4 separate regions of the Homo sapiens genome follow, and all the other regions are linked to region 4. Evidence: promoter capture Hi-C in 16 types of primary human blood cells and fetal thymus (Javierre and others, 2016). All regions are on one chromosome and are shown on one strand. The core of a region is centred on a gene start or on the middle of the fragment in contact, and the rest is flanking DNA. Distances in the headings are between cores, read along the strand shown.

What was found. The method cuts DNA at HindIII sites, captures the fragments that hold promoters and counts their contacts. A CHiCAGO score of 5 or more calls a contact.
Region 1: a contact is called between a fragment that was not itself captured here and the fragment with the promoter of OR4K13 in region 4, in 3 of 17 cell types (M2 macrophages, neutrophils and M0 macrophages). The highest score is 7.0, in M2 macrophages.
Region 2: a fragment that was not itself captured here is called in contact with the fragment with the promoter of OR4K13 in region 4 in 5 of 17 cell types (fetal thymus, neutrophils, naive CD8 T cells and 2 more); the score reaches 6.6 in fetal thymus.
Region 3: a contact is called between a fragment that was not itself captured here and the fragment with the promoter of OR4K13 in region 4, in 5 of 17 cell types (non-activated CD4 T cells, neutrophils, naive CD4 T cells and 2 more). The highest score is 6.7, in non-activated CD4 T cells.

What each region holds. Positions count from the first base shown.
Region 1 is chr14:20,132,979-20,139,320 of GRCh38, forward strand. It overlaps OR4N5 (olfactory receptor family 4 subfamily N member 5), which reads left to right and starts at 5,842. Exons shown (of 3, transcript NM_001004724.2): 1 at 5,842-5,912. The HindIII fragment of the contact is 3,856 bases long and covers 2,989-6,342 here.
Region 2 is chr14:19,948,348-19,953,845 of GRCh38, forward strand. It overlaps LOC124903278 (a long non-coding RNA gene), which reads right to left and starts at 387. Exons shown (of 4, transcript XR_007064055.1): 1 at 340-387. The HindIII fragment of the contact is 1,119 bases long and covers 1,805-2,923 here.
Region 3 is chr14:19,919,105-19,925,528 of GRCh38, forward strand. All of the region lies in intron 2 of LOC124903278 (a long non-coding RNA gene), which reads right to left. OR4K5 (olfactory receptor family 4 subfamily K member 5) reads left to right here and starts at 1,503. Exons shown (of 1, transcript NM_001005483.1): 1 at 1,503-2,474. The coding sequence starts at 1,503. The coding sequence ends at 2,474. It also overlaps a transcript of OR4K1 not described here. The HindIII fragment of the contact is 1,493 bases long and covers 3,052-4,544 here.
Region 4 is chr14:20,031,756-20,038,042 of GRCh38, forward strand. OR4K13 (olfactory receptor family 4 subfamily K member 13) reads right to left here and starts at 4,283. Exons shown (of 2, transcript NM_001004714.2): 1 at 4,183-4,283; 2 at 1-3,226. The coding sequence starts at 3,003. The coding sequence ends at 2,089. The HindIII fragment of the contact is 9,053 bases long and covers 1-6,287 here.

The DNA.
Region 1 (6,342 bases), core at 3,667-6,166, 100 kb after region 4:
TCCTCAGGGATCTAGAACCAGAAATACTATTTGACCCAGCAATCCCATTACTGGGTATATACCCAAAGGATTACAAATCATTCTACTATAAAGACACATGTCCATGTATGTTTACTGCAGCACTATTTACAGTAACAAAGACTTGGAACCAACCCAAATGCCCATCAATGATAGACTGAAAGAAAATGTGGCACATATACACCATGGAATACCATGCAGCCATAAAAAGAATGAGTTCATGTCCTTTGCAGGGACATGGATGAAGCTGGAAACCATCATTCTCAGCAAACTAACACAAGAACAGAAAACCAAACACTGTATATTCTCACTCATAAGTGGGAGTTGAACAATGAGAATACATGGACACAGGGAGGGGAACATCACACACTGGGGCCTGTTGGGGGTTGGCAGGGAAGGGGAGAGAGAGCATTAGGACAAATGCCTAATTCATGCAGGGCTTAAAACATAGATGATGGGTTGATGAGTGCAGCAAACCACCGTGGCACTTGTATACCTGTGTAACAAACCTGCACATTCTGCACATGTATCCCAGAACTTAAAGTATAATAAATTTTAAAAAAAAACCTATAGAAAGCTTTTTTATGGGCCAGGCCTGGGAGCCTGGCCTGACTTCCCAGGCTCAGGTGATCCTCCTACCTCAGCCTACAAAGTAGCTGCACCACGGTGCCTGGTTAACTTTTTGTATTTTTAGTAGATATGAGGTTTAACCATGTTGCCCAGGCTAGACTCAAACTCCTGGGCTCAAGACATCCACCCAGCTCAGCCTCCCAAAGTGCTGGGATTACAAACATGAGGCACCGTGCCCGGCCCATAATAAATAAATAAATACATAAATACATAAATAAATAAATTGTAGCTCCCATCATTCCCATGTGTTAGAGGAGGGACTGGTGGAAGATAATTGAATCTTGGGGGTCGGTCTTTCCCATGCTTTTCTCATGATAGTGAATAAATCTCATGAGATCTGATGGTTTTATAAAGGAGAGTTCTCTTGTATACACTCTCTTGCCTGCTGCCATGTAAGACATGACTTTGCTCCTCTTTTGCCTTCTGCCATGATTGTGAAGCCTCGCAAGCCATGTGGAACTGAGTCAATTAAACCTCTTTTATTCATAAATTACCCAGCTTCAGGTATGTCTTTATTAGTAGAGTGAGAACAGACTAATACAGAAGGGGTCCAGTTTCAGTCTTCTGCAGATGGCTAGCCAGTTATCTCAGTACTGTTTGTTGAATAGGGAGTCCTCTTCCCACTGCTTGCTTTTGTCAACTTTGTCAAAAATCAGATGGTTGTATGTGTGAGGCTTTACTTCTGAGTTCTCTATCCTATTTCATTGGTCTATGTGTCTGTTTTTGCATAGTATCATGCCTTTTGGCTACTTTAGCCTTGTAGTATAGTAGTCAGGTAATGTGATGCCTCCAGCTTTGTTCTTTTTGCTTAGAATTGCTTTAGCTATTCAGGATCTTTTTTGTTCCATATCAATTTTAGGATTTTTTTCTAATTTTGTGTAGAATGGCATTGGTAATTTGATAGTAACAGCATTGAATCTGTACATTACTTTGAGCAGTATGACCATTTTAACAATATTGATTCTTCCAAACAATGAGCATGGAATGTTTTCCCAGTTGTTTCTGTAGGCTATGATTTCTTTCAATAGTGTTTTGTAGTTCCTTGTAGGGATATTTCACCTCCTTGGTTAGATATGCTTTTACATGTTGTTGGGTTGTGTGTGTGTGTGTGTGTGTGTGTGTGTGTGTGTGTGTGCAGAGCTATTGTAAATGAGATTGCATTCTTGATTTGTCTCTCAACCTGAATGTTAGTGCTGTATAGAAATGCTGCTGATTCTGGTATATTTATCATTTATCAGTCCTTGGAGCCTTTTAGTGGAGTTAGAGTTTTCTATGTTTAGTGTTATATAATCACCAAACAAAGGTAATTTGATATTTTATTTTTTTATTTGGATGTAATTTATTTCTTTCTCTTGCCTGATGGCTCTGGCTCAGTTTCCCAGCACTATGTTGAATAGGAATGATGAGAATAGACATCCTTGTCTTGTTCCATTTCTCAAGGGGAATGCTTCCAGCTTTTTCCCATTCAGTAAGATGTTGGCAGTGGGTATGACATAAATGGATCTTATTATTTTGAGGTATGTTCCTTCTATAAATGCCTAGTTTCTTGAGTGTTTTTCTCATGAACCAATGATGAACTGTATCAAAAGCTTTTTCTGTGTCATTAAGATGATTATACCATTTTTGTTTTTAATTCTGTTTATATGGTGAATCACAGTTATTGATTTGCCTATGTTGAACCCACCCTGCATCCCAAGAATATGCAAATAAGTATAGATGTTAGAGAACAGCCCATAGCTAGTCCTTTAATTTGTATTGCTGCCTCCAAATTAGCCAGTCAACCTGCCTGTAAAACAAAGATTCCCCCAATTCTCTAAGTTTTATCAATGTGATTTTAAATTTGGGTGGGTTTCTCCTCTACTTTTTTTTAAATTACTGATTACCATCTGTGTTCAATATCAGTAATTTACCATTAAATAAAATAAAATTTTTAATCAAACATCATGTTACACTATCAAGAACTGACTTGTCTGAAACACTGGAATCTATTTGGCACCTATTTGTGCCTTGTTTGCTATCCTGAGCAAAATATGACTGTTTGCTATTAGGTTTTGTAAACATTGATACAATTTATTTTTCAAAATAAACTAGTGATACTATTTCTTAAAGTACAAACTAAAATCTCATTTTACTAAAATTAATAACATGAAACATACAAAGAAGAAAATGAAAACCATCCCAGAGAAAGAGGTTTTCATTACCAGGATTTAGAGAGGTATTACCTATAAGGTTCTCACTGAGTAGCAATCTAGTTGCTGGAATGTCAACTCCACTGGCATGTCAAATCCCTGAGACCAAGGACCTTTAATAATCAGTCCCTAATTGCTTACCTATGTAGTAAGCTTTCCAAATGAAAAACACCCAAAACTTTTTGTAAAGTAAGGAAATACATTTTCAATTTTGTAGATGACAAAACATCATAGGACTGTCACTCATACATTTCTCCAGAAAATAATTAACTAGCATTTTTAAAATGGAAGTGGCACTGGGTCAAAACCTACAAATTTTTCAGGCAAGAAAATATAACTCAGTGGCTTTATGTCTGAGAAAACTGCCACTCAAATTAAAGGATTATAAACAAATATTTTTAATAGAATAGCTCAGCATGTATTTTTTTTCTAAAGAATCTCTTTGAATAAATTGAGAATAAACTAATTGTGGTAGGTGCAAAAAAAGTGGCCTCATTTCTACTTTTTAAAAATGCTTAACCATGCAAATATATTTCCTATGTGAAAATTAAATGTACCTTTAAAAAAGCATAGTTTTTTTCCAATCACCACCTTATCTTGTTTGGGTCTTCATAATGTTAATAAATTACACTTCCATACATAGCTATTTCATCTAAAATCTTAGGAGTTTTTAAGACATCGTGTCTATCAGCAAGTCTAAATGTCTCCACCATCAAAATACATGTCAAGTTCTCTGAATTCTTCTTACTACGGTCTCCTCCTCCCACTCTCCACCAGGCAAAGTTACCAACATCATCTTTTGTACTTGGTACTGCAACATCTTCAAACTGTTCTCCTTGCTCCTATACTTGCCTCCCTCAAACCCATTCTCCACACAATAGCCAGAACGACCTGAAGATTACAATTGTTGACATTATAATTACACACTGAGAATAACCTCCAAATGCCATGAGCTGGATAACATCTGCCTACCTCTCTAATGTTGCCTTATACTTTTCCTTCTTATGCTCACCATTTCCTCATCATGATGGTCTCCTTTCTGTGCCTTACTGTACCAGCTCAATCCTCTTCCACAGTCTCCATTCTCGTTCTTCACATTGCCTGAAATGCCCTACCCTAGTCATTCAAACCTCAGCTTAACTTTCAGCTCCTCAGGGATAACTTTTCTAACTACTCAATCTAAAATAACAGCACCACCCCCCGCCCTCATTCACCCTCCAACACATCCCTCTGTTATATTCTTTCATTCTCCCACATTTTACTGTCTTTTTTGTTGTTGTTGTTGTTCTTTGTCTGGCTCCCTCCACTGGAATGTCAAATCCCTGAGACCGAGGACCTTGTATATAATAACCAGTGCCTAATCACTTACCTATGTAATAAGTTTTCCAAATGATAAACACCTAAAACCTTTTGTAAAGTAAGGAAATATATTTTCAGTTTTTTAGATGACAAAACATCGGAGGAAGTTTTTGACATTTTCTCAAAAAACAGAACCATCATGGTTGGAACCAGGACTGCAAACTTGTCTTTTGAGCTCCAGTCTTGTGCTAGTTTCACCACATTTGGATGCCTTGTTTAGAAAGCTAGTTCAGGCCACTCTGAGATACATCTTTTAAAACACACAGACATTCACACAAACATACATCTTTCTTTTTAATAGTATAAAATTGCCTAAGATGAAAAAGCATTCTCAGCAGAGGGGAAAGGTCTATTTTGCACTAGTTAATATCTCAGTTAAAATATCTTCTTCTAACTAATTCTAAAGCATTGTTGTCAATATTGAGAAGTGACATCCCTGGGAAGTCCCTTAATTGCATAAAACAAAACTAAAGTGAAAAATAAAAAACAAAAACAAAACAAAATAATTTGCATTCTCAGAAATATCTTTACCACTCTATCTTTCTCTCTCCATCCATTCCCTTCTCTTATCCTGTCTTTTTTTTTTTCTAAACCTGTGTTTACGGCTTTGTGGTACAAGCATCTCTGTGGGCATTGTTTCTCTTTCTATCCATCTTTTCTCCTATTTTTTTGTGTATGCTTTTTCTCTTTTTTGCCTCTGTTCTCTCTCTTGCAATTATCTTGTATTTCTAACTTTGTATCTTTCTGGGACTGTATTATACTGCTATGCTTTCACCCAAGGAAAATGGTATATGTTAGAAGTTGCAGCACTGATCATAATAGGAAAGAAACCTGCTAAAATGTTATCTACCTCTCTTCATCTCTGTCCACTTTTAAACATCTCTGACTGCATCTCTGGCTGAGCTGGGCATAAACATGAATGAAAGCATACTTGACTGTGTATTGAATTTGCTTTATTAAATTTAAGTTTGGTATTTTAATTTTAATGTGACTCTGAGGAATGGCATCTTTCTTTATAATGTGTTACAAAAAAAACTTACATTGATTTTTTTCTTGTATGATTAGATATTTTTATGTTATATTATTTCATTAAAAACCAGAAAGCTCATTATCCTATAGCAGGGCTTAGGAACCATATATTCAAAAAAACCAATAATACAATAGAGTATTTCTTCTTTTACTTGAGGGGCACTCCCCTGGAGGAACTGGTCTACAAGATGCATAAAGTTCTTTTTATTTAAAGACAAACTTTGAAATGATAATAATTTAGATATACTGAGTTAAATGAAGCATTATTAACATTGAATTAATCATTAATCATTTTGCCTAATAAGTGTATGGGACATTCCATTATCACTGCCACTGATAAAATACCAAATTCAAAACCCTAACATGATTCAATGGGGTATTCACTGGCATGTGTTTTGAATATTTAATCTTTAAAATGTTCTTGTCTCTTTCTTTGTCTAATTCTAATTGGCAGTCTAATAATTCCCATTGGTAGAACTCTGCAGAATTCAGGTAGCGGTAAAACCCCAAAGTACATTCTCTATTGCATTAATTGTATTACAAATGAATAGAGATTTCAGAATTTATAATATTCCAACATGAGAATATATATTTAAGCACAAATTCTGAAATAATTAGCTAATCTCCCTTTTATCAGACAGAAAAGAATAGCCACTTGTTTGAGAGTAGCATTTGGCTCCCGGCAAGGTAAAATTTTTTATCATTCTTTATATTTAAATTAAATAGAGAAAAAGAAAAAAAAAGAAAAATTATACTATTTGTCTTGGTTATCTGCTGCCTTGAAATTTATGAGAACAGAATTCTGCTGCAGAAACAGAGTAAGGGTGAGTTGTAAATTCAGGTGTTCAGCACTTTTCTCAAATATACCTGTTTCTCAAATAAACCTCCTATTATCTAATACTTAGTACTATTTTAAAGGTGCTAAAATTTTTAATTCTACTATTGTTTTAAAAATAAAAATACCAATTGATTATGAAGATTCACCACCTGGATTTCAATTTGTATATAATACAAATGACTGATTTCATCTTTATCCTAAACCAAAGGTAAAGGGAGGAAGAGTGAAGGAATCACAATCAGTCAAAAAGGGCAGGCTGAGTCTCAGAGACAAACTTCA
Region 2 (5,498 bases), core at 1,114-3,613, 85 kb before region 4:
TCTACTAGGATGTCTGGTAAGTCTGGGTGAGCTGGACAATCTATACTGACCACACTCATATGTCTGGTAGTTGCCAGGTTAGCAACATGAGCTGGTTTACTGTCAGCCAGGCCCCAAATTCTCTCCACATGGTTTCTCATCTGTCATCAGCTGGAGCTGACTTATACCTGAATGAGAGCTTGTTTTATATTATCAGGGGTTTTGTGAGGTAGTTATTATACACTTGGTGGCTTGAAATCTGCCATAGTGGGAGTATTTTTACCACAGACATTGGAAAATACTACAAATCAGAGCCTTCTCTTCCCCCTTTACCCCATGAACCAGCTCCTAAACATTTACCAGGACATCATTGCTTCTTGTCTTCCAAAAGACTGGCTTAGGCTCGATTCCATGGTGGCCTCAGTATTCCCATAGTAACAATAGAGGGCAGTCCCAATGCAAAATTCTCTTGTGCTATTATTCCTTTCGGCAGAACAAGACACATGGCCAAGTCCAGAGTCAGTGCAGAATACCACTCATCAATTTAAAAGAACCAACTATTGATTCACAGAGTAACTGGGGTGAATCTCAAAGGCATTATGTTGAGTAAAAGAAGCCAGTGTCAGTAAAAACATATGTATGACCCCATTATAACATTCTCATTTTTTAAAAAAAGAGTTTTATGGTATTTTTGAAAAGTAAAAAGTAACCACCACATGGCCACTTGTACACTCATTTATTCAGTGAATCAATAATATTCTGTGGGTATCTACTATTTGCTAGGTTCTGGGCCAGGTGTTGGGGAGATGATAGTGATCCTAAGACACTCAGTTTTTACCCACATGAGTCCCACAGTCTTGGAGTGGAGATGCAGAAAGGAGAGAGAAACAAAGACATGTAAGAAAATCAAATGAGCAAATTAAAAGTTTAATGAGTGTTATGAAGGTAGTAAATAATGTTGCGAGATGAGAAAAAACAAAGGAGTGAAGAGGGGGGAATGGTACTCAGAAAAAGCCTCTCTGTGCTCTGTGTAATGAATAACCTTCTATTTAGTTTCTGTGGGAAGGATATACAATAGAAGAGCCAAAAGAAACAATATTCAAGCAGACAAAAGAGAAATGGAAACTCCCTAAAGTGGAAAGGGATTGTGTGTTCCAGAAAATGAAAGCAGGAATTTAGTGAATGACCAATGAGTGAGACGAAATGAAGCTGAAGGTTAATATGTAAAATACAGGATAGGAAGGGCTCATTATGGATATTGGATTATATTTCTAGAGCAATGGGGACTATGATGGTCCCTTGGTGTCTACGGGGAATTGGTTCCAAGACCCCCGCAGATACCAAAACCCATGGATGCTTCAGTCCCTTGTATAAAGTGGTGTAGCATTTGCATATAACCTATGCACATTCTCCCGTATACTTTTAAATCATCTCTAAATTACTTATAATATCTAATACGATGTCTACATATCACTTCTTTTAAGTGAATTCAATGTAGTACTTGATGTGTTGCAAATTTCAGTTTTGATTTTGAAGATCTGTGGAATTGTTTTTTTCTAAATACTTTTGATCCGTGATTGATTGAATCCATAGACACAGAACCCACATATACAGAGGAATGACTGCATGTTTATCATTTTAAAGTTGTTTGACTTATTTATCTTATTTTTAAAGATTTATCTTATTTTTAAAGACTGCTCTGAGCATTCAGGAGAAATTGACTGGAAAAAAAAATCAGTGCAGAGAGTTGGAGATTATTAGAAGGCCTTTGAAACATTTAAGGAGAAAGAAAGGGATGGTTTAGACAAGGGAAATTGTAATAGAAAGCTTTGATGGATTGGGCATATTTTAGAGAAAGGTACAGCAGGACTGGAAGTGGGAGTGAGAAAATAGAAGAAGTGAAGTTTCTGGCTGAAACCACTGGGGCAATAGAAATGCCATTACCTGGGTTAAGGGAGACTAAAGGAGGACTAGATTTGGAAACAGAAGAATTGAAATGACTGTGAAAATTAAAGAGAAGATGTGAAGAAGAAACGTGATCTATCAGTCTGGGCTGATGACTGGGCTCCTCTCCTCAATTAAGCTCATCAAACTTCCTGGGCACTCACTCTGTGTCACAACATTTACTTTTGTCTTTGTCCCCTGCTCTTCTCTGTAGATTTCCTAAGTCCTTCTACAGCTCTAATGGGATATGTTTCCACAATATCCAAAAGCAAGCTATTTTTATATCTGGGCAGTTTTACCCACTTATGTCTAAGATTCTTTTCTGATTCTGTTATATGGTCAAGTACTGTGTAGTGATAATTAAAATATTGGATAATTTTGGCAAAATATTGTGTGGTATGGAATTTGAAAACCTTTGACATAAAAATTTTCAAGAAAAGGAAGAAATATAAGATTAGAGAAAGCAAAATTCTAATTTTCTTAGACCCATTGCCAGATTTATATTTCTTTGGATCTAATTTTCTTTAGGCCCTGTGCATGTGTGCTAGTGCTTACTGGCACAGTCACTTTAGATAAGGACAAAGAAAGCACATGGATAGAGGCAGAACATTAAATGAGGGCAAATATAGTTGTTGCAAACTTTGAGGTCACTACATTTCTCTCTCATGACATATGTTCTCATTTGCAATTATAGGCAAACAATTTAAAAGTTCTTACCATCTTGATATGGGGGAGAAGCAACCAAAATATTGTTAATAACTCCCATAGCAAGATGAATTCACTTAACAAAGTTCATTTTTTAATTGGCTTTCGCAATTCATGGGATTGGTTATCTGAGACTTTTGGGAGTGTCATGATATTTAAATAGTTCCTTTATAGGCTCCTGTGATTCTCTTTTTAAAATTATTTTTTAAAAAGTTTTGGAAGCATCTTCTCTTCACCCTGTTGTTACTTTCCTGAGATTTATCTCAAAATTGGTATGTGGAATTTAATCGCATCAAGCTTAAAAGCAACTGTACATGTTGCCATTCAGAGAGATAAAGGGATTCTGGGCTAAAGTTATTACCACAGTCAAGGCAACCTGTGTTTTTGAGCATGAGGACTTGGGGTTTGGGCGTGAGAGCCTAATATAAAACAAAACAGCGAATTATTGCTGTTTTGACTGATTATTGTCACTGCTAACACAAGCATGGGATTGAAGTAGCAAGATAAAAGTGAGCATGTTGATGTATAGTTCAGAAAGAGCAGAGAATATAATTGGGCACTACTTTGTTATCTTAGAGGTGGGAGGATCACTTGAGGCCAGGAGGTCCAGGCTGCCGTGAGCCATGATCACATAGTTGCACTACAGCCTGAGTGACAGCGCAAGACCCTGTCTCTTAAAATAATAATAATACTGATAAATTATTTTAGTGACCAGGTAGACATCCTTAGATAGATGTTTTCAGTAATCAGATCCTTAATTGAGCAATATGTAGCAGTTAAACATATGTTCTTTGCACATTCAAATCTTCAGACTACCAGTGTGCCTTGTGACACTAACTTTAGCACTAAATTGTAGCTGCTTCTAACACAAAGTTAGGATTATAGTAATATTTACTTTATAGCATTGTAAGGATAATAAGGTAATTATTGGTCACATATCACTGTAAGATAACTAAATCAATCTCGTCATACCCAAAAGCCTTTATTCAACTTAATTATCTACATAGTAAGAAGCCGGTTTCTTCCCATAAATGATTATCTTCATTACCAAACTATCTTCTTTCTCTTCTACAACTTTGATTGATTCTTTTCATGTCTGACATCTGTACCACTAAGACCTTTACATGTACCTATTTGTTAATCTGGGCTGTGCAATCTAGAGTTTGAGCCACAGAAGATTCTACAATTTGACCTCTTGCCTTATAACCTTTGCTTCTTCCTTCCTGTTTGACCAGAATGCTTTTAGTTAAAGCTCCTTGCTCAAATTAATTTCTGAGTCCAGAAAGTACTTCATACAAATTTCACATTTCTCCTTTAAATGGAAGTTTTATTTCACATTCGGTTTATCATTACCTTAGGCAGAGACCTGCAATTAATTTCCAAATCAGGTACTAAGGATGGGGTGTTAATCCCATTAGAGAAGTTTATTTCCAGTATAACCTGATGTCCAAGACAAGGCATTATTTAACTCTGTATTTGAAATCTGAAGTAGAGTTAATAATGAAACATCAAAGAATGTCTTCCCCTATTTCACAATGATATCCATTTGTAACCTAATTCTAGCTCTAGTTTACTGCATTTACTTTTTTTAAATAAGTTAGAGGTGAAGAATGCTAAAGGTTGGAAGTAGCTAACTGGTGAATGGAGAATTGTAAAGAACGCTATGTGGTTTTTCTTCAGTGTCTACTTTCCTTTTTGTCAGATTTGTATTCCAATGTTTTAATAAATGATAGGTTTATTCTAGAAAATAATGACTTTATTCTAATATTTCATTTTAATCTTATTTGGTCTTTTAAAGTCTCTTAGTTTGTTAATCTTCTCAGAAGCAAATATTTTTCTATTCAGATTGGCTTTACTTGTAAGAAAGTAAAACTATATTATGTAATTTTCAATTAGAATATACTTTATAGTTTACACAGCTCTTTGAAATGTGCACTATCACAAATAAGGACTCAAAAGTTTAGAGAATTCCAGTAAATTGCACAAGGACATTAATCCTATCTGTTTTGGGCATCATTATCTCTCTGGGCCTGCAGAGTTTTTGGCCCATAATCACCAAAGGTACTCAAGAAGTTGGAATGAATGAACAAACACTATCACAGAGTAAGTAGTGAAGCCAGAAATTAAACCCAGATCTGATCTCAAATTCTGTGTTCTTATATTAAGGCATCTTGAGGAAATTCACACTCTGCCTTTCCAAGAAGACTGACTAATCCACAACTGTTAATATGGAATATGATCATCTCTTACTATGGAAAAATATTTTTAGAATGATTTTAGAGAAATTCTGCCTGTACTTGTAGAACCAAGTTGCAGACAAACTGAAATGGTTTTAGACAATTTTGACTCAACACACATCAGTTTGCACATTTTTGTCAGGCTTTGTATACATATATCAGATACTTTAAAAGGCATCTGATTCTGTGAGGTAATACCAAAAAATCAATTACTAATTTTTATAGTTTTAATGATCTCAATATTTGAAAGTCATTCCATGAGTATCTGTCTCAACTAACTATTGACTATGACTGTAGACACACAGGGAGCTCCATGTAGCTTCGGGGATCTGGCTATGAATTTCATTTTCAAGGGCTCTTTTTTGAGAAAACAGATTGTTTCAATTTTATTTTGAATACAATTAGATAAAATTAGCATCATGCACTTAAAATTATAAAATTGTTTTCAAATTCTGTACATGGACATATATACATATGGATACAAATGTCAATACATAATTTGAAAAACAATTTTATATCCATATTTCGTTCTAGAAAAAAAACGAAAATGTTAGTATGTATCTATATGTTGAGACTAAATTTATGGTTCCCTAAAATTACAAACATGCCTAAGCCTATGAAGAGAATATTATT
Region 3 (6,424 bases), core at 2,548-5,047, 110 kb before region 4:
AATTATAATGAGTCATCTTTTTGTTTGCCGTAGTTCCAGAGTTTACAATAATGTATATCCAAAATGTGGCCCAGTGGAATGCTTCTCTGAACCTTCTTCCAATAGAGTACACAATATGATTGTTTACTGTGGGGCTTCCCGGTGTGGATTGCAACTGCATTCATCTAAATGAGAGACTAGGTCTGTAGCCTAGAGACAAAGGAAAGACTCTGGCTTCTTGTATGAAATAAATTAGCAGAAAAAGATGTTCATGTTCTCACATGGGACTAGAATTAGATCATTACTCTCTCAGGCCTCTTACTATGACTGTTGTCAACAGTTAATTGTCAGAACTAATATGGTTTCCTAAAACAGCACTTCTTTAAAGTTTTTCCAGTTCAACTGAACTAGATTTATACAGTAGGGGTATGTCTTTACAGGGTGAAAAACATACGATGCAAATTTTTAGATATTTTCAAGAGCATGAGAGGTTTATAATCATTTTTACTTCTCTATCCAGAAATTTTTTTTAAACTTCATTTTCCAGCATTAATTATAAAGATGTTTTAAGAAGATCATGGAGAACTCTAGCAGGGAGAATGTAAGTGGGCTGAAATCTAATTCTGATAGGCAAAGAAAATGAAAAATTTAGGTTCCACTCTTGGATAATCAACAGAAAATAGGATTTAGATAATTCAGGTAAGCCATAATATGTGTTTTAAGAAATTATTGGATAACTAATTGACAAACTCAGTTGGAACTATAGGCCAGTATAATATACATTCAATAGTATCTGTTTAGCAGGAATTGCCTAATTGTAAATGACTCCTGCAGGAGCACGAAGGTAAATTTCTATTAATATAGGGTGTTTAATGTATTAAGATCATATGTTGCAATACAATTACTTTGATGGTAGAATGTCATGAGTTATTCTGCTTAAACTCTAAAGTTTTCTGTAAAGTAGGTATTTTTATACCTCCCATCTTTTTTAAGGTGTGGAATTAAAGCTCAGATAAAATAATTGGCCAAAAGTTAATCTGTGTGACTTTACATCATGTAATAATAATCAAGCCATGAATATCTCTTCAAAAGTTAAGAATGTTGTATAATTGATGATGTAAGATGACCACAAGACAAGCAAATGTAAACACTTTTTGTCAACCTATGAGGCTTGTGGAGCTGGACTCTAGGTCACTCCTCTAGTCTTGTTGTCATGAGTCAGCTCCTGGGTAAGCTCATTTCCTACTGTATAAAAGACAAGGACTATCCAAAAACTCAAGGGGTTCTAATTATACTGATTAAATTATTAAGCATTATTTAGACATTTACATAAGTTCTTTCCTATTATCCACCTATCCAGACATACTATTATGGCCTCTTCAAAATTTTTGCATTCAGCAAATGCACATTATATCTGAGATCTCAGAATCCCTCACCTTAAAAGTATTCTTAATTCAAATTCTGATTCCTTTCTATTTATCCTCCTTTAGAGTTGTTTCAGAACAAGTTTGCAGCTTGGAACCATGGATAAGTCCAATTCTTCAGTGGTGTCTGAATTTGTACTGTTGGGACTCTGTAGTTCTCAAAAACTCCAGCTTTTCTATTTTTGTTTCTTCTCTGTGTTGTATACAGTCATTGTGCTGGGAAATCTTCTCATTATCCTCACAGTGACTTCTGATACCAGCCTGCACTCCCCTATGTACTTTCTCTTGGGAAACCTTTCCTTTGTTGACATTTGTCAGGCTTCTTTTGCTACCCCTAAAATGATTGCAGATTTTCTGAGTGCACACGAGACCATATCTTTCAGTGGCTGCATAGCCCAAATTTTCTTTATTCACCTTTTTACTGGAGGGGAGATGGTGCTACTTGTTTCGATGGCCTATGACAGGTATGTAGCCATATGCAAACCCTTATACTATGTGGTCATCATGAGCCGAAGGACATGCACTGTCTTGGTAATGATCTCCTGGGCTGTGAGCTTGGTGCACACATTAAGCCAGTTATCATTTACTGTGAACCTGCCTTTTTGTGGACCTAATGTAGTAGACAGCTTTTTTTGTGATCTTCCTCGAGTCACCAAACTTGCCTGCCTGGACTCTTACATCATTGAAATACTAATTGTGGTCAATAGTGGAATTCTTTCCCTAAGCACTTTCTCTCTCTTGGTCAGCTCCTACATCATTATTCTTGTTACAGTTTGGCTCAAGTCTTCAGCTGCAATGGCAAAGGCATTTTCTACGCTGGCTTCCCATATTGCAGTAGTAATATTATTCTTTGGACCTTGCATCTTCATCTATGTGTGGCCCTTTACCATCTCTCCTTTGGATAAATTTCTTGCCATATTTTACACTGTTTTCACCCCCGTCCTAAACCCCATTATTTATACACTAAGGAATAGGGATATGAAGGCTGCCGTAAGGAAAATTGTGAACCATTACCTGAGGCCAAGGAGAATTTCTGAAATGTCACTAGTAGTGAGAACTTCCTTTCATTAAGACAAAACTCCTTCAAATTCCTCAGGTCAATACACTGTTTAATATTTTAATGTATTTTTGTGGTGTATCTCAATTGTGGGGAAAGTAGTGAAGAAGATAATATAGAGAACATTTAATGAATATTAACAAGTCTTTTTCTAGGTATCAAGTGAAAGTTAAATATAAAAACATGGAAAAATCTCTGTTTAGATTACTGGTTCTAGAAATAAAATATGGGCACTAGATGGATAATATGTATGCATTTACTGCTTTTGTTACGGGGTAAATGTAAATATCAAGAAAAAAATCAATGAGAACCTAATTCTCTGGTGGGCATACATTCAAACATTTGTCAGGTTTTAAGAGTTTTCTTAACAACATGCCTAAAACTTCTATGTGGATGAATAGTATTTAAGAATCTGAAACTGAATTTTGCCAACTTCAGGGAATAGCCAAACTACAATTTAATATAACTGCTTAAGTTCAAGTGGAGATTATTAGGTTATGAGACTCCCCCCCCCAAAAATCAATTATGCCTATCCCATACGGTTTTCAAATAGCTAAAATGCTTTAAAATATGGAATGATACATACTCAGAAGCTTCCATTTTAAACCTTTCATTTAAAGGGCTGCCTCTGATTGGCTAGATAATTCCAATTTCCTTTTAGATTATGAGTTGCAGAAAAGAGAGGAGAATCTAGAAAGCTGAACTATTTCAACACCAAGATTTTCGTTTGTGCCACTTCTCTTCTTGTTCCTACAGTGCAGCTGCCAGTGGCTTATGTTCAGGCACCCAGTGGTACTCATCCTCCAGCAAGTTTTATTGCCAGCCTTGGCCTTAAATTCTCTGATCCCCATCTTCACTTCACCTTCTGTGGACTAGATCTGGTCCAGTGCAACCCAGAGAACCTCTCTCCATCTAGGGGGCCTCACTCATATTCTCTCCAAAGAGTTCTGAAACTCAACCTTGGGCAGGGCATCACCCTTCCACATTTATTTCTTCTTTGGTTTCTCTCCTTTAGGCCTATGGTATTTTTTTTTTTCAAAGTAAACTGAAGACGATTCAGATTCAGATTTAATCAGTTTTTACATGTACTCTTTTTTTTTTTACTATTGCTTTATAGTATTATGAAATATCATTGCATAAATAGATTCATGTAGTCACAACAGCCACAATAAGGACATAGACCTCTTCCGTCACTTCAAAGAAACTTTCCTGTGCTGTCTCCCCTGTGATCTTAACCCTGGCAACCAATGATCTGTTCCCCATCACTCTATTTTATTTTTTCATTTCAAGAGTGTTGTAAAATTTATCAGCTGTTCAAATGGCCTTTGTAATAATTTTTAGAAAATTTAATGTGGTTGGATTTGTGAATCATTTTTGGTATCTTTTTTTGTGTGTATGTGTCTGATTTAAGAAATCCTTCTCTCTGTCAAGATCATAAAGACATTATTTAGATTTTCTTCTGTAAATTAAAACATATATTGCTTTTTATACTTAAGAATTTCATCGCTTTGTAACTCATTTTGTACATTTTGGGAGCTAGGCATCTATTTTTATATATTTGTAAATATGTAGAAATCAGACTTGGTGTCATTTATTTAATTGTTCATTATTTCCCTCAATTTGCAATACTACCTCTCTTACATTTTCAGCTTCAGTGTATGTATGGATTTGTTACTAGACTCTATTCTGTTTCGTTAATGCATGTGTTTAGCCCTGCACCCATATTACGCTGTTTTAATTTACTACAGTTTTAAAATAAATCTTGATGTCTGATAGATTAAGTTCTCTCATCTCTTATTTTTCAGTGTCTTTGTTAGTTTATCCCCTTTATGTTCTATAAACATTTTACAACCAGCTCGTCAGATTTCTTAAAATATTATTTCAGGATTTTGTTGTAATTGCATTGGATTCATGTGTTAATTGACATACAAAGATATTTATTATATTCATTGTATATAACATATTTATTAACTTATAGAGAATGACATCTTTTACAAATAAATGTTGAAAAAGAAAAAATATGTCAACAAAAAATTACAATTATTTATGTAAAAAATGTAACTTGCAAAACAACAAATACTCTAAGCTTATGTACAAATTTAAAGATGTGCATTTAGAGAAAATTATAAAATTTAACAAAAGGTAGTAATGAAGAGTGTATTAGTAAATCAAACTTAAATAAGTGAAGATAGACACTATATTAATAAATAGAAAAACAGTATGGTAAAAGATGTCAGTTCTCTCTTAGGGTATTTTTTTAGAGTTACTTTTTATTCTCCTTGTAGTAGCTAATTCCTATTACCAGTTGCTAATTCTTTATATTAAGTATTCTCTGTTCAAATTACTCATGTGGGTTCTGTCTCCTGACTAGACTCTGACAGATACAGATACTTTTAAGTATTTTGAAGGTATCGAAAAATCAGAAGCATCTCATCAAATATGTTAATGAGAGAAATCAGGAGCCAGTTGAATAAAAAAAAGTCAGTAGCTTCATCTATTTATGCACTAAAGTGAAATTCATCTATGACATGCTTGAAAATATAAAAAATGATAGGGCTGGGTGCGGTGGCTCACGCCTGTAATCCTAGCACTTTGGGAGGCCGAAGTGGGCGGATAACCTGAGGTCAGGAATTCAAGACCAGCCTGACCAACATAGAGAAAACCCCTCTCTACTAAAAATACAAAATTAGCCGGGCATGGTGGCACATGCCTATAGTCCCAGCTACTCGGGAGGCTGAGGCAGGAGAATCGCTTGAACTTGGGAGGCGGAGGTTGTGGTGAGCCGAGATCGCGCCATTGCACTCCAGCCTGGGCAACAAGAGCAAAACTCCGTATCAAAAAAAAAAAAAAAAAAAAAAAAAAAGATAGCATTTATAAAGTGAATGCTATCATTTGGTAAACTCAAATTTATTTCTTGACTTTTTAATAATCGCCATCCTGACTGGTGTGAGATGGTATTTCATTGTGGTTTTGATTTGCATTAGATGCTGGTGAAACTGTGGAGAAATAGGAATGCTTTTACACTGTTGGTGAGAGTGTAAATTAGTTCAATCATCGTGGAAGACGGTGTAGCTATTCCTCAAAGATCTAGAGCCAGAAATACCATTTGACCCAGCAAACCCATTACTGGTTATATACCCAAAGGAATATAAATCATTCTATTCTAAAGACACATGCACATGTATGTTTATTGCAGCACTATTTCCACAAATTTTTCAAATTACTCTAGTTCCAATAAAAACAAGGGACATTCCTAATGCTAAGAGCAATGAATTTCTAATTTAATTAATTCTTATTTAAGGGAAACTATTAAAGGCACATAGCATCGTATTTCGGTTAGGATTGTGATATTATGTACTGTAGAATCCCACCTTAAATTTTGTTTAAAATATAAAAAATAGAAAAATAAATAAAAAAATAAAGCAACTATTAATATAACTTGGTAATCAACTTTTTAATACACACATTTCAAAGTAATAGGATAGTATTAAAAATTCTTTTTTTTTCCTCTGGTTTACAGATCCTATAGACTTTCCCTGCACTGCTGACAAATTGACAGAGAAATATCATTAACTGAATAAAATGGCAGAAGAAGTGAACATTTTAGTAAATGTGGAAATAACTCTAGTCAATTGAAAAAGTGTAAAGGAAAGTGTCTTGAGTTGGCTGTCAAAAACTGGGATTTGAACATTGATTATATTACTATTTTTGACATTGAACAGATTACTTAGCTTTTGATCAAGTCACCAATCTCTTCAGTCTTTTAATTTTCAGCTATTTCTCTCAGAATAAAGAAAAGAAAAAAAAAACTACCTTTTTGGTTCACACAGGCTCTGTATTATATGGCTTCTTCTTCACGATAACCCATACAATGAGTTAATTAACATATTTCTCCCTGGCTAAGCCAAACTCTACCTTATTAGGGGATTTGTTTATGGTAGATGAATATATTCCTAAATTGCTT
Region 4 (6,287 bases), core at 3,033-5,532:
AACCAGCTGAAGTCTCCCCCGCCTCCCCCCACCCCGAGCCCCCAACACACCCACCCATGCCCACCTCCCCGCTCAGAGGCTGAAAACAAGTGCAGCAAGGTGTGGTAAAAGGAAAGCAATTTTATTCAAATGCAAGCAGGTGGGGGATGGCCAGGCTCATGCCTTTAACAGACCATTCCCCGTTTGGGGGCTAAGTAAAGGAGTTTAAGACGGAAAAGATATGGGAAATATGTGGGAATAGTGCAGGAACGTGCAGGTCTGCGTGTTTTGTTCTGAAGGTTATCTTGAGTGATGGTCTGTCCTGAGGCCTGATTTGCCTTTTCCTGACTTTGGCCTGGTAGTGGTGGGTTAACTGTAAGTAATTCCCCTCTCAAGGGAGGATTCTGCAGCCAGGTTTCCCTGCCTTGTTTGTTTCAAAATCGGCCCCTAGGATTTCTAAGCAAGTCCTTAATTAGATAAGAAACACTGTGTATGAATGTACCTGGTGGGAAAGGGAGACAAAGTCTTACAACACAAGGCTACATTCTGAGATTCAGAAAGAAAGAAAAAAAAAGTTTGAAAATGCATTTTGAGGCTGGGATCCTTGGTCACAATAATTCAACTTGTACACAAAATGTTTTCTCCATAAAATTGGTTGCTCAGTATGAAACAACTAAGGCTGATGTGACTGTGCCCTTTATGTAACAAATGATCTAAAAAATAACATGTTAGAGACCTAGTACTCAATGTTTTATCTTCTGTCTCTGGAATGGCTTTTCTGGATACTAGGTATAATATATCCAATAAAAGGCATAAAGTTCTTTTTGGATTTATGCTGAAGTTGAAAGACAGTAGACATCTTCTCCCATACCCAGTTGCCTTAAATTTGCTTTAGCCTTCAAGTCAGTTACAGGCCTAGTTGCCTAGATTGCAAAGAGAAATATGAACAGAGCTAAGAAGGGGGAGATAAACTTGGAATAGAAGCAGTACAATGTACAAGTTGGGACAGGAATGGTCTATGCTTACTTTTTTTCCTTCCTGTCTCTCTTTTAAATTTCAGCATGACACAGTTTTGAATTCCAAAGAGTGTCCTATATTTTCTATTATATGATCAGACTACATTTGACCTACCTCTCTATCTCATCTCTCAACATCATAGCCCATGACCCAGCTCAATGAAATTATGTATAGGTTCTCCACTGTGTCATGCTTCTATGCATTCTCAACATACTATTTCTTTCTCGTGGAATGTCTTTCTTTTCCATCTAGCTGATGCTAACTATAAGTGGAAACCTTCCTGCCCTGCCCTGATTGAGATGCCATTCCTGCACTCTCAAAGCACCCTGTCCATCATGTAACAGTGCTGTTCGTGCCATGGAACAACTGCCAATTTAGTTTGCTCGATCTATCCATAGGCTGTAAGTTCCTTGAAGGCCTGGCTATATCTTCTGGCATTCTGTAGGCTCACAAAATATGTGAAGAATGGTGAACACACTGTGTTTATGGAAAACAACTTAGTATAATTTAATACACACTAATCAGGGATTACCCAGAACATGCAGTTTTCTAGCCTGTAAGGCACTTGGATAAATAACCGTGATGAGATGTCATCTGTGTGCTTTCTCTAAACATAGATTACCAATAACAACAACAAAAAACCTAACAATAATAATGTGTTTTCTGAGGTTTAAGAGCATGCTAAAATAATAATGAAAGATGCATATAAACAAGGTTGTATAGACGAAAAAACTAAATCACAGGGAACTTATTTATTTTCTTCAAATTTGCACCAGAGAAACTGATAAAGGTGGGATTTAAATGTATACAAGCCAAACTGTAGATATTATGTGTTTGACCATAAAAGATCACAAAAAGGTGTTTGCTTTTTAACAATTACATCTACTATTTCCTCATATGGAACTTGAACTGTTAGCTGGTACACAAGTTATAGTGGTTTTTGCCATTACTTTAATTTTGTCATTTACTTTAATGGCAAAAACCGCAATGACTTTTGCACGAACCTGATACATTAAAAACGAGTTTCTTAAATGTTCAAACAAACAAGAGAGTGTCTCTTCAAAAGTCTCATCTAAAAAGTATGCTTTAAATTTATATGCAGAGTCTTTTTTTAATGGCTGCTTTTACCTCTTGATTTCTTAATGTATAAATAATAGGATTTAAGAGAGGTGTGAAAATTGTGTAAAACACAGAAAGAATTTTATCTACCGAGTATCTGCTGAAGGGCCAGACGTAGATAAAGACACACGGAGCAAAGAACAGAGTCACAACTGTGATGTGAGCTGAGAGAGTGGAGAAAGCCTTAGAGGATCGACTAGCAGCACGGTACCTAACTGAGAATATTATGACTCCATAGGAGACAAGCAAGAGGAGGAAGCAGACCAGTGACAGGAGCCCACTGTCAGCAATGACCAGGAGCTGTAGGATGTAGGTGTCCTTGCAGGCAAGTTTAATCACAAGGGGAAGGTCACAGAAAAAGCTGTCTATAACATTGGGACCACAGAAGGGCAAAGTCAACATGAAAGCCATTTGACTAGATGAGTGCACAAATCCAACTGCATAGGAGGATAACAGTAGCCCAGTGAGCACCCGTGGGCTCATGATGGTCATGTAATGGAGGGGTTTGCATATGGCAACATACCTGTCTATTGCCATGGCTACAAGCAACATCATCTCACTCCCACCCAGGAGGTGCATAAAGAACATCTGGGAATAACATCCCCACCATGAGATGGTCTTACGTTCTCGGAGGAAATCTACAATCATCTTAGGGGTAGCAAAAGAAGCCAGGATCATATCAATGCAGGAGAGGTTGCTAAGCAGAAAATACATTGGTGTGTGAAGGAGCGAATCAAAGGTCACAGTCACCAAGATGAGCAGGTTTCCTAACACAATCCCCACGAAGACCACAGAGAATCCCAAGAAGAATAAAATCTGAAGATTTTGAGATTTGGAAAGTCCCAACAAAATAAATTCCGATACCACTGAATGGTTTGCTCTTTCCATATCGTCAACTTTATCCCATAATGATCAAAATAAGTGAGAATAAGGGGTAGGGAAATGATGCATATTGGAAAGAAATGTTCATGTTGATGTCCACATTTGGTACTCAGTCAAGGCACTTGAACTTACAAGGACCCTTACTTTTGTGGAATTTTGTCAGTCAGTGATTTTACTAATGGCCCAGAGAAGTATCCCAAATAGTCAGTAGAATTCAGAATATAAGTTTCTGGAAGACAAAAATAAAAACATTAATAGTACATGAAACCACAAAACTATAGGTCATGAATTAGAATCAGAAGACCTCTACAGGACACCTGGGTAAGCTGCTCACTGGGTGACACAGGACAAGTAACTCTCCTTTTGAGGGTTTTCTTCTCAGTGAAAAAAAGAATTTGGACTATATGGTATCGAATGCCTCTTTCTGCTATAAAGATCTCTATGAATAAGATAATGATTCTGGTGAGTTTTATAGTCACAGAATAATATTGAGTTTTATTAATGTGGAAAGGATATCAAAAATACATCCAGGATTCTCAAGAACCATGTTTTGAAATGGACTCTGGTAAAGAAATATGAATTAGGTCCTGAGAAACTTACCTTATTTCCTCCATGCTCCATTCTTGCATGAATCCCTCACAGATCAGTATTAGCAGTAGTCACTACACACTTTTGAAGTGTCAAGTATATGTATAGTATATATATATTAAACATGTATATTACATACATTTCATATATTTATATATATTTATATAATTCGTTCATTCAACATTTCATATTATTCACATCAAATACCTCCTCTAGATGGTTAGACAATGTGTACAAACAACCCACAGTCAAATGTAATTGACTAATTTCACTTTCAGCTTGCATTCATTTATTCATTTACCTGGTTATTGCTATGTAGTGGTTAGCTGGTTGGCCTGTGTATGGTTGTCATAGGTTTCAAAATGACTTAGCTTGATGTAACATTTATGTTGGTAAAAGAAATACAGTTCTTTCAGTATAATCTAAATTTATGACAAAATTTGTCATCGGCTCATGCTTATTACAAACTGGTTCTATTGGTTCAGCTTTTAAAAAAATTGCCTCCGTTGCTAATAGTTTTAAATTAATCTAGGTCTTACAAAACACCTTCAGTAAATAAAGTATTTGTAGTCATCTTTTTGTGCTGTTATTACTTACAAGACAGGGGAAAAAAACTTTCGTGATGGCGTCGTACGTGAATCCCAGGAATGGCCTTTTATCTCCTTTTCCTGTATCCCCATCAGTTATCTGCAATTTACTCTTCCAATCATCAGAAACAGAAAAAATAGAGACCATAGTGCTATATGTTTCTATGAGATAATCCCATAGGAACACTTATCCAACTAGGGATGTATTTTTTTCCCTATGTAAACATATCTGTTGGCCAATTTCCCACTCTGAGAAACTTTGATGCAAAATATTAAATTTCATCAAATATGTAATTAGAGCCATTCATTTATATGTCTATAAAGGTAATAGCTCTCTTCAGTTTTATGACTAATATTTAAGAATTCCTACTAATGCTTCTTTTTGAAACCCAATTTTTGAAGCTGCATTTAAACAGAAGAGAACAATTTTCAAATACATACAAAGAAGTTTATAAATCCTCCACATCTGGAATAGTGCATATCAAAAACACTAAGTGAATATCTGTTGAATGAATAAACTATGTAGTGCATATTCAGGATCTAGATTAAGTCAGCTGACTTAATCCACAGAAAAATCCACAACATTAGGAATTTTAACAATATTTATTTTTAAATGTCAAATTGAATGTTGAAGTATTTTAAAATCAGAAATAGAACAGCCATTCTTAAAAAGCTGGTTAAAATATGTTTTTTTCTTTTAATTATCTTTTAAAAAAAAAGGTAGTTTATGCCAATGTGAAAAAAGCACATCACAGATAACAGAAAGACTGACTGAACATTTTAAGAGCTTCTTAGATAACTTTCCAGAAAAATAATACACACTTCAGTACAGTGTGTGTGTGTTAGTGTTACAGGTATTTATATTTATATCATTTTATTAAGACTGCAGATTATATATTATATGTATAGCTATTTTTCTTGAGTTTTTAACTTATTACATTTAAATATGTTTATATTAACATATAGAAACATAACTTTTTAATAGGTGTATAGAATTCCACTTTGTAGATGTTGCATAATGTAATCTCCCCACAAATACAGTTTATTCTTAGAATGAATTTAACATTACCTATAAAAATTATTTTTCATCATATCACTCTCTTCTTTATAAACCTGTGATAACTACCTTATCAATCCCTAACTTCTCCTGGATATTCATAATCAACTCCTCACCCACCCTAAAAATCCAATATTATTTTCTTTTTTTTTCTTTTTTTTTTTTTAATTATTATACTTTAAGATTTAGGGTACATGTGCACAATGTGCAGGTTAGTTACATATGTATACAAGTGCCCTGCTGGTGTGCTGTACCCACTAACTCGTCATCTAGCATTAGGTATCTCTCCCAATGCTATCCCTCCCCCCTTCCCCCACCCCACAACAGTCCCCAGAGTGTGACATTCCCCTTCCTGTGTCCATGTGTTCTCATTGTTCAATTCCCACCTATGAGTGAGAATATGCGGTGTTTGGTTTTTTGTTCTTGCGATAATTTACTGAGAATGATGATTTCCAATTTCATCCATGTCCCTACAAAGGACATGAACTCATCATTTTTTATGGCTGCATAGTATTCCATGGTGTATATGTGCCACATTTTCTTAATCCAGTCTATCATTGTTGGACATTTGGGTTGGTTCCAAGTCTTTGCTATTGTGAATAATGCCGCAATAAACATACGTGTGCATGTGTCTTTCTAGTAGCATGATTTATAGTCCTTTGGGTATAAACCCAGTAATGGGATGGCTGGGTCAAATGGTATTTCTAGTTCTAGATCCCTGAGGAATCGCCACACTGACTTCCACAATGGTTGAACTAGTTTACAGTCCCACCAACAGTGTAAAAGTATTCCTATTTCTCCAGATCCTCTCCAGCACCTGTTGTTTCCTGATTTTTTAATGATTGCCATTCTAACTGGTGTGAGGTGATATCTCATTGTGGTTTTGATTTGCATTTGTCTGATGGCCAGAGATGGTGAGCATTTTTTCATGTGTTTTTTGGCTGCATAAATGTCTTCTTTTGAGAAGTGTCTGTTCGTGTCCTTTGCCCACTTTTTGATGGGGTTTCTTGTTTTTTTCTTGTAAATTTGTTTGAGATCATTGTAGATTCTGGATATTA